Regions from separate parts of the Homo sapiens genome. Here regions 2, 3 and 4 are each linked to region 1. The links are contacts of gene promoters, found by promoter capture Hi-C in blood cells and fetal thymus (Javierre and others, 2016). All regions are on one chromosome and are shown on one strand. The core of a region is centred on a gene start or on the middle of the fragment in contact, and the rest is flanking DNA. Distances in the headings are between cores, read along the strand shown. Region 1 holds the start of MPLKIP (M-phase specific PLK1 interacting protein). Region 2 overlaps LSM5 (LSM5 homolog, U6 small nuclear RNA and mRNA degradation associated). Region 3 holds the start of BBS9 (Bardet-Biedl syndrome 9). Region 4 holds the start of DPY19L1 (dpy-19 like C-mannosyltransferase 1).

Region 1 (4,196 bases), core at 859-3,358:
GCAATTCCCAAGCATTAAGTTAAACACTAAAGACAATGTCCAGAAAGGTGAATTTTTGGCCAGGACAGAACTACTGTATTTAATAAAGTGGATAGGCTGGAGTCCTCCGACCTTAATTGTATCACTAAGCCTTAATGGCAACGTGCTACCTTGATTAAGTCTATCACTTGTATCTACAGAAGAAACGAAATGTAGTGAATTGAATTTCCACAGAATAAACAAACAAAAAAACTGTCTGTGTGTGTCTCCATTCATCAAGGAGGATAGAAGCTGAGAAGATACCACACTCGTCAGCTTGGGATGTCACAGAACATGTCAAAGAGACAGCGAGGAGTAGCAGCTACAAGAGGGTGAATGGAAATCACAGGTCCAGGCTACCCGTTAGGCTATGATTTAATGAGTCCTAAAGCTCTTTTAAGATTCTGTATCCTACGCCAGGCGCGGTGGCTCACGCATGAAATCCCAGCACTTCGGGAGGCAGAGGCAGGCGGATCACTTGAGCCCAGGAATTTGAGACCAGCCTGGCCAACATGGTGAAACCCGTCTTTACTAAAAATACAAAAAAATTAGCCGGGCATGTGGCACATGCCTGTAATCTCGGCTACTCTAGAAAGCTGAGGCAAGAGAATCGCTTGAACCCGCGAGGCAGAGGTTGTGGTGAACCAAGATCGCGCCACTGCACTCCAGCCTGGGCGACAGAGCGAGACTGTCTCAAAAAAAAAAAAAAAAATCCTGCATCCTGCAACTAATTTCAAGATTCATAGTGGGCCGCGCGCATAATCATAGAGATTACGTCTGTAATCTCAACACTTTGGGAGGCCGAGGCGGGAGGATAACTTGAGGTCAGGAATTCGAGACCAGCCTGGCCAATATGGCGAAACCCCGTCTCTACTAAAAATACAAAAATTAGTTGGGCGTGGTGGCGCATGCCTATAATCCCAGCTACTCGGAAGGCTGAAGCAGGAAAATCTCCTGAACACGGGAGGAGGAGGTTGCAGTGAGCCGAGATCGCGCCACTGCAGTCCAGCCTGGGCGAGACAGCGAGACTCCGTCTCAAAAAAAAGAGAAAAAAAGAAAAAAGGAAAAAAAAGATTCATAGTGGATTACCATTCCCAAATTCAGAGGGAGTAAAGAAAGTTCTATAACACTGTAGTAAAGCTAAATTTCATCCTCTAAATAAAATTCTGCAACAGGTAACTGTACAAGGGCATCTTTTATTGTACATGAAGTGTCAAGTTATTCAAAGCAGCGGGCTAAAGTCCTTTCTGAAATGTGGCTTGGTGTGCATTTTCGAAGTTACTTAAACTTGGCGGACGAAAGGACAGGAGTAAAGAGGCCCCAAACGCGAGCCGCGGGACGCGCAGGAGCGGGACCCCACGGCGCACGGAGCCCTCGGTCACAACAACGCACGGGACAGAGGCGACCCTGGGCGGCCAGAGCGGGGCAGGCCGGCCGCAGGCCCACGGAACGGGGTTGCAGGGAGGCGAGCAAAGCCACCGCTAAGGGGTCAGCAGAGACTTCAGACCCTAATTGCTCTCCTCAGGGCGCCCGAGGAGGCAAGCTGGGGCAGGGATCCCTTTAGCCACCCAGACCGAATCTCGGAGGGTACCTGACTGCGGGCGGCCAGTCCACAGCCCCCTCCCGCCGCCCCGGCCGGAGAAGAGGCAGGTTCTGCGCAGAGCTGCCACCCTCGCCAGCGTCGCCAGCATCGCGTGCGTCTCAGATGGCATCGGTCCCGGTGCAAGCGGCGAACTCCGTGCGGCGCCACCCGCCGCCACTGGGGGGCGCCCACGGACGCCGCAGACCCCGCCCCCGCCGGGCGGGGCTGAGCACTAGTCGCCTGCTGGGCCAGCTTCTAGTCTGTCGGTCAGACCAAGGGCACTCAGACTGGAAAGGTTGTTGCTGGGCTTGGGTGTCCGTCCTTTCCTGTCTCCTTTTCTTCCTCTTTTCACTTAAATCCACTGAGTCTCTCGCCAAGTCAGTGATTTAGGTAATCCCGCCGCCCCTGGCGGAACCTTTGTGACGCCGGAACTGATGTGCCGTAGGGTGGCTGCGGTCGGAGGACTGTTTTGGTAAAGGACTAGCAGTTCTCTGCGGAGGGCCGGTTGATACAGTTCCGGTGGGAGAACGCGGCTGCGAGGTTTTCGGCTTTGGCTCCTGATATGCAGCGACAGAATTTTCGGCCCCCAACTCCTCCTTACCCTGGTCCGGGTGGAGGAGGTTGGGGTAGCGGAAGCAGCTTCCGGGGAACCCCGGGCGGGGGCGGACCACGGCCGCCCTCCCCTCGAGACGGGTACGGGAGTCCGCACCACACGCCGCCGTACGGGCCCCGGTCTAGGCCGTACGGGAGCAGTCACTCTCCGCGACACGGCGGCAGCTTCCCGGGGGGCCGGTTCGGGTCTCCGTCCCCTGGCGGCTACCCTGGCTCCTACTCCAGGTCCCCCGCGGGGTCCCAGCAGCAATTCGGCTACTCCCCAGGGCAGCAGCAGACCCACCCCCAGGTAATAATAATAGCCAGCGTTTGCCGAGCTCTTACTTTATGGCAGGCACGGTACTAATATTCCCTTTACGTGGATTATTTTGTCTAATCCTCTCTGAGGTACTATTGTTAGCCCAATTTTGCAGATGAGCGAACTGAGGCTTAGAGAAGTTGAGTGACTTCCGGAAGATTATCCGAAAGAGTGGCAGAGCCGTACGTTCTGTTTTCGAGCCCTCGTGCTTTTAACCAATACACTGCCACCCGTACACAGATTTTCCTAATTCTCCATTTCCTCCTGTTTGCCAAAGGCCTTGCCAGTTTGTTTCAAGAAATAGTTCTTTTTCTTTTTTTTTTTTTTTTTTTTATCTTTCTTTCGAGCTACACTGGCTTCTGCTCCAACTTCCCTGAAAAGAAAATCGGTGGTAGTGGAAGTTTTCCATTCCTTTAGTGAGAGTAAATACAAAAGACAGAGAGAGTATCTCTAGCATGTCTGGGATTTCTGTGGTTTACAACTTGCAACTACGTGGTTTTCCAACTTGCTGTATTCTACACCAACCCCCTACCCCTTTTGAGCCTGGAGCTAAGGAGTAAAGAAAATGTTCATGAGCTAGAAAGGTTCTAGAAACTTTAAAACTATAGTATTGTTTTCTCCTGAAAAAAGTGAAAATTTCGAGGGAAAATTGAATATAATTACTTGATTTCATCACTGCTTGTATTTAATTACTGCAAAGTTACTACATTAGACACAAAAGTATTTGAGATGACAGTGGTCATGGAATTATAAATAAATGAGAATAACGAATTGCTTTAAGTACTTTTTTTAAAAAATAGGAACACTTGATTAAAGGAAGCATGGACTTTGTAATTGAACATTATTTAGGTTCAAGTCACAACTTTTAAGCAGCAATGTGATTCCCGCTAACCTTTAGCTAAAGGAAGAAGTACCAATTATCTTTACTAAGTGTTTTTTTAACTGATTTTTTTTCTAAAGGGTTCTCCAAGGACATCTACACCATTTGGATCAGGGCGTGTTAGAGAAAAAAGAATGTCTAATGAGTTGGAAAATTATTTCAAGCCTTCAATGCTTGAAGATCCTTGGGCTGGCCTAGAACCAGTATCTGTAGTGGATATAAGCCAACAATACAGCAATACTCAAACATTCACAGGCAAAAAAGGAAGATACTTTTGTTAACATTTCTGAAATTCAACTGGAAGCTTCATGTGTCAGGAACATCTTGGACAAAACTTTAAGTTGTGTTGATATAAATTTACCCAAAGATGATGACTTTGATTGGATAATTAGTAAGGTCTTTTTGTTATTTTTCATCGTATCAGGTATTGTTGATATTAGAGAAAAAAGTAGGATAACTTGCAACATTTAGCTCTGGAAGTACCTACCACATTTTAGAGATTTACCGTTTCCATATATTTAACATTCCTGGTTACATAATGGACATTTGTCTTTTAATGTTTTTTCAATGTTTTAAAATAAAACATTTTGTCTTCTAGCTATTGTGGTTTTGTGGTATGATAAAGAAGTAGACTTACTACAGTAATGCTTTGTAGTCACTTAGAGTTCATAGGTAAATGTTTTGCAAATTATTTTTGAAAATGAAATAGGTAAACCATCCTTTGAGCTGTAGACAGCTCTGTATTTGTTCGTAAATAATGAGGATGAGAATAACAGAGTTCTGTTCATACTCATTTTATCTAATGC
Region 2 (4,196 bases), core at 464-2,963, 7.6 Mb after region 1:
GATCACTTAGAAAATTCAATTAAAATGCTGTTGTTTTGTAATGAGGATTTTTCTTCTGATTTCAAATTCCATGAACTCCTATTGAAAACAAACAATGTACAGGTAATATATGCACATTGTAGAAATGCAGGAATTATCTATTGGAATTACCCTAAAGATAGAAATTTTATCTATTTGCTTATAAAATTGATTCAGAAGGTTATTACCTTAATGTAGTTATTACTGAATTGCCAGGAAATGAGTGGAGACAGAGCTTTAAGATAAAGGATACTAAAAGCAGCTAAGAACTCCAGGACTCAGGTCAAATCAAGGAACTGATAATAAGATCATTGAACTGTATAAATTAAGTCAAAGAACTCCTATTAAAAACAAACAGGTAATATATGCACATCGTAGAATTGTAGGTAAGCAAAAAGGAGAAGGTTGATCATGCTTTGCTGTATGTCTTCGTAGACTTTCTCAGTCCACTCTCAGTACACGTTTTATTTTACTTGCTCATCCTGATTATACTGTTTTTACCCTCCACTTAAGTCATTTTTTGAATTTAAATGGTGAATATCTTTCTGTGTCAAATATTTCAACATTAATATGTACATAGTATTAAATGGATTTACTATAAATTATTTAGCCTATTCTTACTGGCCACAGTAGTCTAACTAGATCTTTATACATTTGTATTTTTCTAGAATAAACTCAAAAATGTGTAAGATCAAAGGGTATATATTGTGTTGCCAAGAAAAAGTTTGTGCCAATGTATATTTTTGCCAGGAGTCTTTCATAGTACCATTTATATCCTTCCCAGCATTAGCTGTGTTCTACCTTCTCTCCTCTTTGCCATTTTTACAAGAAAACCGGGCATGTCTAAAGTTTTCTTTTCCTTTTTTTTTTTTTTTTTTTTTTTTTGGAGAGTCTCACTGGAATGCAGTGGCATGATCTTGGCTCCCTGCAACCTCCAGTCAGGCTGGTGTGCCTTGTCGCGATATCAACGCGACCTCCGCCTCCCAGGTTCAAGTGATTGTCCTGCCTCACCCTCCTGAGTAGCTGGGATTACAGGTGGGCGCCACCACTCCCATCTAATTTTTATATTTTTAGAGAGATGGGGTTTTACCTTGTTGGCCAGGCTGGTCTTGAACTCCTGACCTCTAGTGATCCACCTGCCTCAGCCTCCCAAAGTGCCGGTATTAAAGGCATGAGCCACCAGGCCTGGCCTAAAATTTTCTTGATTAATTTTGATCTCATTTGTATTTTGTAAATGACTTATCTGTTGAGGCTTTTGCCATTGAGATGTTTGTCTTTTTCTTACTAATTTGTAAGAATTCTTGATGGGTTTCTGTTAGTCATGTATTTTGCTAATAATTTCCCTAGTTTGTAGTTTGCCACTTAGTGCTATTTTTGACATAAATGATGTATTTTAATGTAGTTGCATGTTGACCTAGTCCATTATGGTTTTTGTATTTGGTCCACGTGGATTGGAAAACCTTTGCTTTGATTATACTTTTCTTTGGGCACTTTATGTTTTCTGCGTTTGATTTAAATCTGGAATCTATCTGGAATTTTGGTATTACCACATGGAAAAAGGATCCAACCTTATTTTCCAAAACACAAAGCACTGATTTGTAGTTTTCTCTGATTTACATGTTGTCAGTACTACTGCCTTGGCTAATTTCAAGCTACCAAGGCTTTAACAACTGGTTTGCAAAATTCTCAAGGATTTGACAGTTGATTCTCAGGAGCCAGTATGAGCTGGTTGCCTCACACTTTGCTTCTAACTCTTGGGGGCAATGCTTTCCCTCCACTGTTGTTTCTTTCCCTTTGGAGGGGAGTAAGTGATGTAACACCTGCTTCTTTCCACCCCTTTATTATTTGCTATCCCAGGGGAGCTAATAGTCATACCCAAGCTCTTCCTTTTTTCATCATAGGAGTTAGGCCAGGTGCAGTGGCTCATGTCTGTAATCCCAGTGCTACATTGTAGGTGGTCGAGGTGGAAGGATAGATTGAGGCCAGGAGTTGGAGACCAGCCTGGGTAATATAGTGAGACCCCATCTCTACCAAAAATTTTAAAAAATTAGTGAGGTGTGGTAGTGTGCATGCACCTGTAGTCCTACGTAGTTGGGAGGCTGAGGCAGGAGAATTGCTTGAGCCCAGGAGTTTGAGATTTCAGTAAGCTATGATTGCACCACTGTACTCCAGCCTGGGTGACAGTGAGACCCCGTCTCAAAACCTACAATGAAACGCCATTTCATGGGTGCTATAGAATGGCTATAATTATAAAAAATTATTGTAACAAGAATTGTACAAAAATTAATGTAACAAGTATTGGCTGGGATATGAAGAAATTGGAGCCCTAGTACCTTGCTGGTGCGAATGTAAAATGATGCATGCACTGTGGAAAATAATTTGATGATTCCTCAAAAAGTTAAACAATTACCATACGACCCTGCAACTCCTCTCCTCAGTTCATACCCAAGAGAACTAAAAACATGTCTGCACAAAAACTTGTATGAACATTCACGGCAGCATTATTCCTAATGTCTCAAAGTGGAAGCAACCCAAATGTCCATCGATGGATGGATGGATAACTGAAATGCGATATATTCATACAATAGAATATTATCTGTTAAAATGAATGAAGTACTTGTGTATGCTACAGTGTGGATGAACTGTAACATTATGCTAAGTGAAAGAAGCCAGACACAAAAGACCACATATTTGATTTATATGATCCAGAACAGGCAAATTCACAGAAATAGACAACTATACTAGTGACTGCTAATGGGTATGGGTTTGTTTTTTGGGGTGATGAAAAAGTTCTGGGATTAGATGGTTGCACAACCTTGTGAATATACTAAAAAGCACTGAATTATAACCTTAAAAGAGTGGATTTCATGTTACATGAATTACATCTCAATTTTTAAAAAGTGATGTATCTGAGGCATATCTAGTGTAACTTCTGAGGCCCTAAAGAAATTACTTTCCCATGAGTAACAGCTTGGGTTGTGGCTGCTGAAAGGACTTTAACCACCTAAGCATCAAACCCCCTTCTGGTTAAGACTGAACAGAATAAGGATTTGGGAAAGGTTGTTTTGGGCATTTAACTTAAGAATGTTGGACATTTTTTGTTTGTTTTGAGACAAGGTCTTGCTCTGTCACCCAGGCTAGAGTGCAGTGGTGTGATCAGTGCTCACTGCAGCTTCGAACCACTGGGATCAAGCGATTCTCCCCCCTTAGCCTCCCAAGTAGCTGGATCCACAGGCAGGTGCCACCATGCCCAGCTATCTTTTCTCTTTTTGTTTTTTTAAAGATAGGGTCTCGGTCTGTCACCCAGACTGGAGTGCAGTGGTCATGGCTCACTGTAGCCTCGACTTCTCGGGCTCAGGTGATCCTCCCACACTACAGGTGCACACCACCACACCTGGTTAATTTTTTGTGTTTTTGATAGAGACTGGGTCTTGTCATATTGCCCAGGCTGGTCTCAAACTCTGGGCTCAAGCGATCAACTCGCCTTGGCCTCCCAAAGTGCTGGGATTACAGTTGTGAGCCACCGTGCCTGGCCTAATTTTTTAATATTTTGTAGAGACAGGGTGTCACCATGTTGCCTAGGCTGGTTGATTCTTAACTTACAAAAATAAGGGTATTTAGTTTTGGATTTTAATTCTAGTGGAGTTTAACATTTTTGGACTTTGATTTGGAAGGAGGTTTAATTTTTGAATTCCAGTAAATTTGATAATGGCACAGGATTATATGTAGATTTGGGCATCTCTGTTGTTGGCATTTTATTATTGGGTGTTGGTGTGCTGATATGCCAGGTTAGACCATTTATTAGTTGGGGTTCTCCAGAGATGACCAATAGTATATGTATATAGATATATAAGGGGATTTATTAGGAGAATTGGTTCATGCGATTATGGAGGCTGGGAAGCCCCAAAACAGGCTGTCTGCAAGCTGGAGACCTTGATGTGGCTCAGTCCAAGTCCAAAGACCTCAGAGCTTGGGATGCTCATGATAAAATTCTCAGTCTGAGGCTGAAGGCCTGAGAACCCAGGGGGCTACTGGTGTAAGTCCTGGAGTCCAGAGGTCTCCTAAAGTTGGGATCACTCTTCCTTCTCTGTCCTCAGAGGACAACATCATCAGAACATCAGGAGTTCTTATATCCAAAGACAGAGAAGGAAGAGTTATCCCCGCTCTAGGAGGGAGAC
Region 3 (4,196 bases), core at 1,267-3,766, 7.0 Mb after region 1:
CACCAGCTCCACAGAGTTGGAGTGATTCCCCCAAGAAGCTCCCCTGCGCCCCCCGTCACCCCCAGAGACCAGCAGAGGAAACGGCATCTATCCCTTGGAAGACACTAGGCAGGCGAGAACAAATGCAAGTCCTGCTGCTCACACCGAGGAGGAAAGGATGGAGGAGGCGGTGAATGGGATGTAGCAGAAACCCGACGGCCGCAGCGGAAGGGACACCTCCCCTCTCCAGCCTAACTCTGAGCCATCTTCGCCCTGTTGTCATAGCACTTACAACGGACGCCACTGCGCAGGTCACGCCGTGCCGCGCCGACTTCTGGGGGCTGGAGTCCAGAGAGGCTGAGGCGCAAAGGCGGGGACCGACTTCTGAGAGGGCCGCGGTTGGAATTAGATTGCTACTGGGGCGGGGCTCGAGTGAACCACGGCCTGGTCCTCATTAGCAGAGAGTGATAATTACTGCAATCCTCTGCCCTGTCCTGGCAGCAGTTCCTTAAGGAAGACCCTCCTCCTGCCTGGGCTCCGGGGGCAGGCCACGCCCCCCCGGCCGCGTGACCGCCCTCTCCCCTCGGTGCGTGTGGGTGGGGCCTAGTGGGGGCGGGGCGTCACTGGCTTGTCCATGGTGCTCTGGGATCCTGCGCTTCTGAGAGTCCCAATCGCGGTGTTTTTTTCCTGCCGGGACACTCATGAGGGCCCCGTCCATGCACCGCGCGACCGTGGCGAGGGTGGTCGCGGTAGCGAGCGCCAGCGTGTGCGCCCTGGTGGCGGGGGTGGTGCTGGCCCAGTACATATTCACCTTGGAGAAGAAGGCGAGGCGGAAGACCAAGATCATCGAGATGATGAAGCTTTTGAACAGTTTCCAGTTTTTCCTTTTTTTACTATTTGAAACAGCGCTGCTTTGAAGTTACTTGTGCCTGCGTCCTGATACACATGTGTTAAATATATTTTCCGTATATACCTTAGAGTGCATTTCCTGGTATATGGGATTGGATCTATGTCTTCTTTTGTTTTTTACTTATTTTTTTTTAATCTTTACATTCAAATTCAATGTAGCCAACCTTGAAGTTTTTCTTGTTTGCTTTTTTCAATGGATTCTAGTGTAGGCTTTAAATTTCCAGTATTTCACCATCAATCCACAAATCCACATTCCCAGTAGAAAATACCATTCTAGTTTTAGTTTTTTGGGTTTTGGGTTTTTTTTTTTTTTTTAACTGAGACTGGGTCTCCCTGACAGGGTCGCCTAGACTGGAGTGCAGTGACAGGATCACTGCTCACTGAAGCACTGAAGCCTCAGCCTCCCGGGCTCAAACGATTCTCCCACCTTAGCCTTCCTAGTAAGCTGGGACTACAGGCACAGACCACCACACCTGGCTAATTTTTGTATTTTTTGTAGAGATGGAGTTTCGCCATGTCCAGGTTGCTCTCGAACTCCTGGGTTCAAACGATCCACCCACCTCAGTCCCCCAAAGTGCTGGGATTGCTGGCGTGAGCCACCGCGTCCGGCCTCAATATTTTTAAAAATGACCTTTCAGTCAAAGCCTTGGTAATATAACCAGTTTCCAATTGTATTCTGCTATACAGAGAGAGCAGATTTTTATTAGACTTATTGAAATGACCATATTACCATAAGAAGACTCACAAATGGTTTTCTAATTATGGAGGAATCAAGTAAAGAGAAAAAAAGTTTTTATCTTTTTTTACACAAGTATACTCTATCAAATTGCTGTAAATTATAAATAGCTTAAAAGACAAGATTTTCTTAAATCTGGAAAAAACTATTTGAGTAAAGAACCAACAACATTTGAAATAATATCATAAAAACATTGTCTTCATTAGTTAAACTCACGTAATTAATTCTTGTTCTGCCTGATCTTGATTAATAGTTTCATGAACCCACTTTTTTATTACAGTTCTGGAAATTGTTATATTGTCCATTGATCTTCAAGTTGTTAGAAACCCAAATCTAAGAGTATATTTTAGGGCCAGGCACAATGGTTCATGCCGGTAATCCCAGCAATTTGGGAGGCCAAGGCGGGAGGATCATTTGAGGCCAGGAGTTGGAGAAAAGCCTGGCCAATATAGTGAAACCCCATCTCTACTAAAAATACAAAAAATTAACCCAGCGTGGTAGCGCATGCCTGTAATCCCAGCTACTCAGGAGGCTGAGGCATGAGAATCACTGGAACCAGGGAGGCAGAGGTTGCAATGAACCAGGATCGTGCCACTGCACCCCAGCCTGGGCATCAGAGCAAGATTGTCTCAAAAATAAATAAATAAAAATAAAAGAGTACTTGTTAGAATATTTTCCAGGAGTCTGTTTTTTAAAAAAGAATTCAAAACAATAATATGGATGACAAAAACTTAAAATAGCCATGGTTAAAAATCTGATGAAGTTAACAACTGAGAAGAACATTTATTTATTGCTATTATATACAGTATTTTAAGATAACCAGAATTATGACTGGTAATATAATACATTTGTACGAATTTTTTTTAAAGATGGGGTCTTGCTCTATTGCCCAGGCTAGAGTGCAGTGGCACATTCATAGCTGACTGCAATCTCAAACTCCTGGACTCAAGCAATCCTTCTGCCTCAGCCTCTCAAGTAGCTGGGACTACACGTTTGTACCACCATGCTTGGTTTTTTTTTGGTTTTTTTTGTTTTTGTTTTGTTTTGTTTTGTTTTAATAGAGACAGGGTCTTGTTTTGTTGCCCAAGCTGGACACAAATTCCTGGCTATAAGTAATCCTCTGACCTCAGCCTCCCAAAGTGTTGGGATTATAGGCATGAGCCATCATTCCCAGCATACTTGTATGGACTTATATAATTTTTCAAACATTCATATAAACAATATTCCCATAAATGCAAATAAAAGAAAAATCTAGTATCAGTTATCGTTTGACAATATTTCTTATAAAATTTACCAAATAACCCAAATCATTTAATACCTCTAAAAGATGAGAAAGATATGTTTTAATGCTTTCCAGGAGTCCAACTGGAAAATTCCAAAGTTAATTCTACATTTAAAAAACTTAAATTGGAATTTGATTTTGAGGAAGTTTTTAAAGGGCTCAAAACACTGTATCAATACAGAATCACAAGTTACTTGTGAAATAAGTCATTTATATAACCAGAGTGATAATCAAAAGGCTTAAAAAGCCATACAAATAATTACATTAAAACTATCTTAACCATTTTAAACTTCAGGTTAAAAAAAAATCAAATCTAATAAAAGCAACACAGGAAATTATGTTGATAAAATGTATAATCTTCCTTAGGCCAGGTACCAAAAAAGTAAAGAAAAACTTTCTGCAATGTGATTGTTTCTCCTTTTGGGGAGCTCATTTAGATAACCTGGAGGTCGAATCTGATGAAAAGGGTACTTGAATTTAATCAGATACAGGAAGATGTGTCCCAGGTCATGATTATAACAATTCACATGTATCAAGAAAAGCCAAGAGTACAGAATCAAGTTATATTGAAAAAGAGCATTGATTTCTAGGCCTTCAGGATAAACCTTTAGTGTCAGGCCATACCAGCAATTAGAACCAAAAAAAAAAAATTGTATAGCAACTGATGAAAAAATTGAAGGAGAGAGTTACCATCCCAGGCTTTCTAAAGAGGAGAAAACCTGAATGCAATGATATATGACCTGGAAATCAAATAGCAAGACATGGCAAATTTGAACCACTGAGATACGAAATCTGAGAAATTTCAAAAGCAAAACTCTACCTCAAGAAATGATATTACCAGACGGGTGCAATGTCCATAATCCAAGCACTTTGGGAGGCCGAGGTGGGCAGATCGTTTGAGCCCAGGAGTTCGAGACCAGCCTGGGCAACATGACAAAATCCTGTCTCTACAAAAAATACAAAAATTAGCCGGGCGTGGTTACGTGTGCCTTTAATCTCAGCTACTAAGGGGGCTGAAGTTGGAGGACTGCTTGAGCCCAGTAGGTCAAGACTGCAGTGAGCCATGATCGTGCAACTACACTCCAGCCTGCATGACAGAGTGAAACCCTATCTCAAAAAAAAAAGCAAAGAAATTATTATTTTAAATGAAGAAGACAGCATTTTTAATGTGAAACTAGGGAAATTAAATGAATCTCAGTGAAAAAAGGTGGCAGAAATAGAAACTGCCTGCAGTTTAGGGGATAGCAGTTAAAGAAATAGATTTTAGAATTCAAAATGAAAGCTTCTTAC
Region 4 (4,196 bases), core at 893-3,392, 5.1 Mb after region 1:
CCAAAAAACTAATACCTCACACTGCCCCTCTCCGCATGGTTGCCAAGCCGAGAAGGGGAACTGACAAGCACTTGTGGAACTGCATTCATTCACTCACTCATTCAACAAGTGTTTTCCTGGTACAAACGGTACCAGCTTAAGGGAGGCAGTTCCTGAATTCAGGGCCTATCACATAAAGTAGACACACAGCAATCTAATAATTCAAATGTTGAACCTCTTTTTCCATGCGTCTTTCTAATCATTAAAAAAAATCCATCATTTGTATTATTTTTATTTATTTATTTTTTTGAGATGGAGTCTCGCTCTGTCGCCCAGGCTGGAGTGCAGTGGCGTATCTCAGCTCACTGCAACCTCCGCCTCCCGGGTTCAGGCGATTCTTCTGCCTCAGCCTCCCAAGTAGCTGGGACTACAGGCGCCTGCTACCACGCCTGGCTAATTTTTGTATTTTTATTAGAAACAGAGGTTCACCATCTTGGCCAGGCTGGTCTTGAACTCTTGGCCTCGTGATCTGCCCGCCTCGGCCTCCCAGAGTGTTGGGATTACAGGCGTGAGCCACGGTGCCCGGCCAGTTATTCGTATTATCTTTAATAGGCATTGAATTAGCTTTCTTTTAACTGAATACATTCAACATTAATCCCAGAGGTAGCATTGAGTTCAGCTGACACAATGTTTCAGAATCCAAGCCTTCTGCATCCTACTTTCAACCATTATTTTTTAAACCAGTGTATAAAAATAGTTGTTCTTTGCTCCAATAAAGACATTGGAAAATCCAAATTCATAAACTAGACAGGGTATGAGGGAGTATTAATTAGCATGGCAAACACCCTCCCTTTACAAAATAATCCACTGTCTCTTAAAAAGGCTAACAATGAACGAATGCTGGTATTAGTAAAGAAATCACTGGGCAAAGAAACAAAGAGCGAGAAAGCCACGTGAAGTCCCTGGAATTACAATAGAGATAAGCAGAACGATGGGCCTTGATTTACAACATTGGGACTTAAAGACAACTTTTTGGAACAAGCCACTGGGCACGGCCAGGAAAGGAACCTCCCAGTTGTAATCCATGCTGTTGTAAGACTGTGTGCAAAGAATGCAGGGGTGGAGGGAGAATTGGGATCTACCTGGGTTTCTAAATTTTCCCGGGTTTAATTTACTCGTGCATTCTGCTATGTAAAAGAAAACATATTTTCGACTAAAATCTCCTATCTTATCAACGCCAAGTTTTCCTGCTTCCTATTAAGCAACAAGGTTACAGCAAGTGTAACAAACTGAATGTACTTATTGATGATCTTTCCTGCTCCAGCCAATCCATCCTATCACCTTCAGCCTGGCTCCTACCCTGGTCTTCAGTTTACACTTGTGCCTCGTCCCTTATCAGCTCCCCATGAGATTCCAGGCTGCTATTTTAATACTCTGTTACTATCTTAAATCGGGTCGCACCCGTTCTTCTTGTCGGTGAGTGAGGGGCTGCGCTCCAAGTTGCGCGACCACACTGCGGGGAGTAAACGGAGACGGTGACTTGATTGCCACCCGCGCGCTTCACATCGGTGGGGCCGACCAGGCGCCCAGGGCGCACGCACAGCGCCCCTAAGTGGCCGCTCCGGGCGCCTTCTCCCTGCCCCGCCGCGTCTCGCCTGCGCGGGCTCCAAGCGCAGCCTTAACAGGCTCCGAAACTTGAATCAGCGCCCCGATCCCGAGAGGGCTCTTCCTTCGGCCCCATCACTCCCACAATGGAAGGGCGGCCGCCTCCGGAAGGCCGTCCGCCCCCGCGTCCTCGCACCGGCCGAGCCCCGCGCGGGCGCCGAAGAGGTGTGGGTAGCCGGGCGCCAGAGGGGTCGGGCCCCGCCTGCGCCGGAAGTCCGCGCGTGCGCGCTGGCCGGCCTGGAGCGCGCGTCCGGCGCAGAGGGGCGGCGGGGGCGGGGCCGCGGCCGCTCGCAGGGTGTCCCCGCCCCCGCCCCCCGGCGTTCCGCGGTCGCCGTGACAACCGGAGCGGCGGCAACGGCGGCGGGCTAGCAAGTCCGGCGCCGCCTCCCGGCGGTACTGCCAGCCAGGCAGCAGCCGCCCGGCCTCCACGATCTCCCCGCCTCCCGGCCCGCGGGGAGGGACGAGCCCGCCCTCCACCCTCCGCCCGCCCGCCCGCTGGAGAGTGAGCTGCGCCCAGCCGCCCAGCCAGCCCGCCGTTCTCTGGCCGCCGTCCGGGCGCGCGCAGCGAGCGGGCGCGACTATGCCAAGATGGTCCTGCAGGCGCGGAACAAGCACCGGGAGGCGGCTCCCAAGCCGCCCCAGCCACCCCGCGCCTCACAGTCGCCGCTGAGGGGGGCGTCGGACGTCGGCGCCGGGGAGCCGGGGCCCGAGCGCGCGCCCCTGTCCCCGGGGCGCAAGGGCGCCGCGGGCAGGAAGGGGCCCCGCGCCGAGCCCGGCGCGCCGCCCGCCGGGGGCGGCCTTGGGGGGCGCCTGGCCGCCCGGCTGCGCTGGGCGCTGGGCCTGCGGCGCGCGGGGCGCGGCCGGACCTGGACCACGCTCCTGTTAGGTGAGCAGCCCTAGCGCCGGCGCCGCCGGGACGCGGAACTTTGAGGCGCTGGCCCCCTCCCCTCCCCTCCCCTCCCCTTCCTTCCCCTCTCCTCCCGCTTCCGCCGCGCCGAGCCCCGCCAGCCGGACCAGCCAGTTTGCAGCCCTCTCCGACTTTTTCTCTGGGACATTCTTACCTTCTCCTCCCCGCAACTCCCTGGCTCAGCTCTCCTCGCACGCTTCCCACCCGCGCTCTGCCTGGGCTTTAAAAGAATGGCCCGGGGATCAACAGCTGCCCGGCCTGGCCGCGGGCAGCAGGTCTGCGCTAACGAGACTTGAGCGCTGCTGATTGGTACGACTGGCCGCCTTCCCGTTATCTCGGCCTCTGACCGCCAGGATGGTTTGCTTTGGCTTGGAAACGATTCCGTGGAGCTCAAAGCAAACGCACGTTCCATGTCGTAGAGAGTTGCTTAAACTTATAATTAAATTTTAGCGTACTTTTTTCTTCCTGGCCGCAAACGCCGCTGGTGGCACTTTATTTGTGATTCCCCTCGACACGTCACTTTCTAGGTTGTGTTGTGTTTGGGGCGCCCGAGCCTTAATCCTCCCTGCTGCCCTTGGAACCTTTGGTGAGGAGGGCTCTCCTCCCCTCCCTCTGCCATTTACCAAATGGATGATGTGTAATGATGTGCTGAAAAAAAAAAACAAAGTTGACGCATTCGTATGTTTCGGACTGACTTCAGGTTTCCTCTGTTTCCTGGTTGAATTTTGATAAGGCAAGTTGTAGCAGTTTGGATAACAGGCCTAATTTTTCTAAGTCAACTAGTGAAATGCTGTTACATTGCTTTTTTCTATATGCCTCAGTGGGCTTTTCGCTACTGAACTATTTAATTACTGTTGATTTATCCCTTAGTATATTTTCAGATTCCCTTGGTGACTCAAAGTTCCCTTAGCCAGGAGTTGGGGTCCAGTATAAGTCAAGGAATAGGACACAGCAAATTGGCTTCCCCTGAGATCACAGCCACAAATAAAAGCCACTCAGTCATAAAAAGCCAGTCATCTCTGTATGTTTTAATGGGCTCAAGAAGGTTGTTCCTAGGGTACTTTTTTTCCCCCCATTGCCGATTCAAGCCTAGAAAAACCAAGTTTGTTTTTCTTTGTTTGTTTGTTTGTCTGTTTCCAGCACATTTCCCCCCGCCCCCTTTTTTTTTATCTCAGTAGCAAGCTTGAAAAGCTGGCTAGTATGCAGGTTAGAAAAGCTCACCTTGGGGAGGCAGCACGATACAGTGGATGAGGCAGAGCCTTCAGATCTAGTACACAGCGGTTCAGTTTGGTTTAAGTTTCAGGTTCCTTTGTGAGTCTTTCGTTCTCTGCTAGTGGGGGGTTATCACATGGCGAATTTACTCCACAGGGATCCACAGGATCTGTTAAGGATCATAACTAAAAGGTGTGGGTGATACATGGGAAGATACTTTGTGTTTAGAGCACTTGACACATTGTAGTTGTTGTAATAAAAGAAAGTGTGTGATGCTGATTTGAGATCTGATGACAGAATGGAGTTGCATTTTTATTGAATGACTAAACATTAACCACTTTGTAGTAAAATATAGAATGGCATTGCTTCTTCAGGGATGTTACAATAACAAATCTTAGAATAATGATATTTATTGCTATTTTCTGCATATTTT

Evidence for each region. Contacts are between HindIII fragments. The CHiCAGO score rates a contact against its expected background, and 5 or more counts as called.
Region 2: a contact is called between a fragment that was not itself captured here and the fragment with the promoter of MPLKIP in region 1, in 4 of 17 cell types (total B cells, total CD4 T cells, naive CD8 T cells and 1 more). The highest score is 13.2, in total B cells.
Region 3: a contact is called between a fragment that was not itself captured here and the fragment with the promoter of MPLKIP in region 1, in 1 of 17 cell types (total CD4 T cells). The highest score is 7.8, in total CD4 T cells.
Region 4: the fragment with the promoter of DPY19L1 here is called in contact with the fragment with the promoter of MPLKIP in region 1 in 2 of 17 cell types (non-activated CD4 T cells and monocytes); the score reaches 7.4 in non-activated CD4 T cells.

What each region holds. Positions count from the first base shown.
Region 1 is chr7:40,132,534-40,136,729 of GRCh38, reverse strand. MPLKIP (M-phase specific PLK1 interacting protein) reads left to right here and starts at 2,108. Exons shown (of 2, transcript NM_138701.4): 1 at 2,108-2,501; 2 at 3,471-4,196. The coding sequence starts at 2,163. The coding sequence ends at 3,671. It overlaps SUGCT (succinyl-CoA:glutarate-CoA transferase), which reads right to left and starts at 1,725. Exons shown (of 14, transcript NM_001193313.2): 1 at 1,610-1,725. The coding sequence starts at 1,709. RefSeq lists silencers at 1,653-1,852, 2,313-2,382 and an enhancer at 2,033-2,102. The HindIII fragment of the contact is 4,548 bases long and covers 1-3,696 here.
Region 2 is chr7:32,482,650-32,486,845 of GRCh38, reverse strand. LSM5 (LSM5 homolog, U6 small nuclear RNA and mRNA degradation associated) reads left to right here. Exons shown (of 5, transcript NM_012322.3): 5 at 1-1,508. Among named protein-coding and RNA genes, the nearest start is that of LSM5, 5.6 kb to the left of the region's middle. The HindIII fragment of the contact is 5,746 bases long and covers 1-4,196 here.
Region 3 is chr7:33,125,628-33,129,823 of GRCh38, reverse strand. BBS9 (Bardet-Biedl syndrome 9) reads right to left here and starts at 260. Exons shown (of 23, transcript NM_198428.3): 1 at 1-260. RefSeq lists enhancers at 198-307, 798-847 and a silencer at 358-657. The HindIII fragment of the contact is 3,349 bases long and covers 842-4,190 here.
Region 4 is chr7:35,035,431-35,039,626 of GRCh38, reverse strand. It overlaps DPY19L1 (dpy-19 like C-mannosyltransferase 1), which reads left to right and starts at 2,142. Exons shown (of 22, transcript NM_001366673.1): 1 at 2,142-2,530. The coding sequence starts at 2,233. LOC105375228 (a long non-coding RNA gene) reads right to left here and starts at 2,841. Exons shown (of 3, transcript XR_001745162.3): 1 at 2,706-2,841. RefSeq lists an enhancer at 1,303-1,532 and silencers at 1,583-2,252, 2,283-2,452. The HindIII fragment of the contact is 4,166 bases long and covers 1-3,735 here.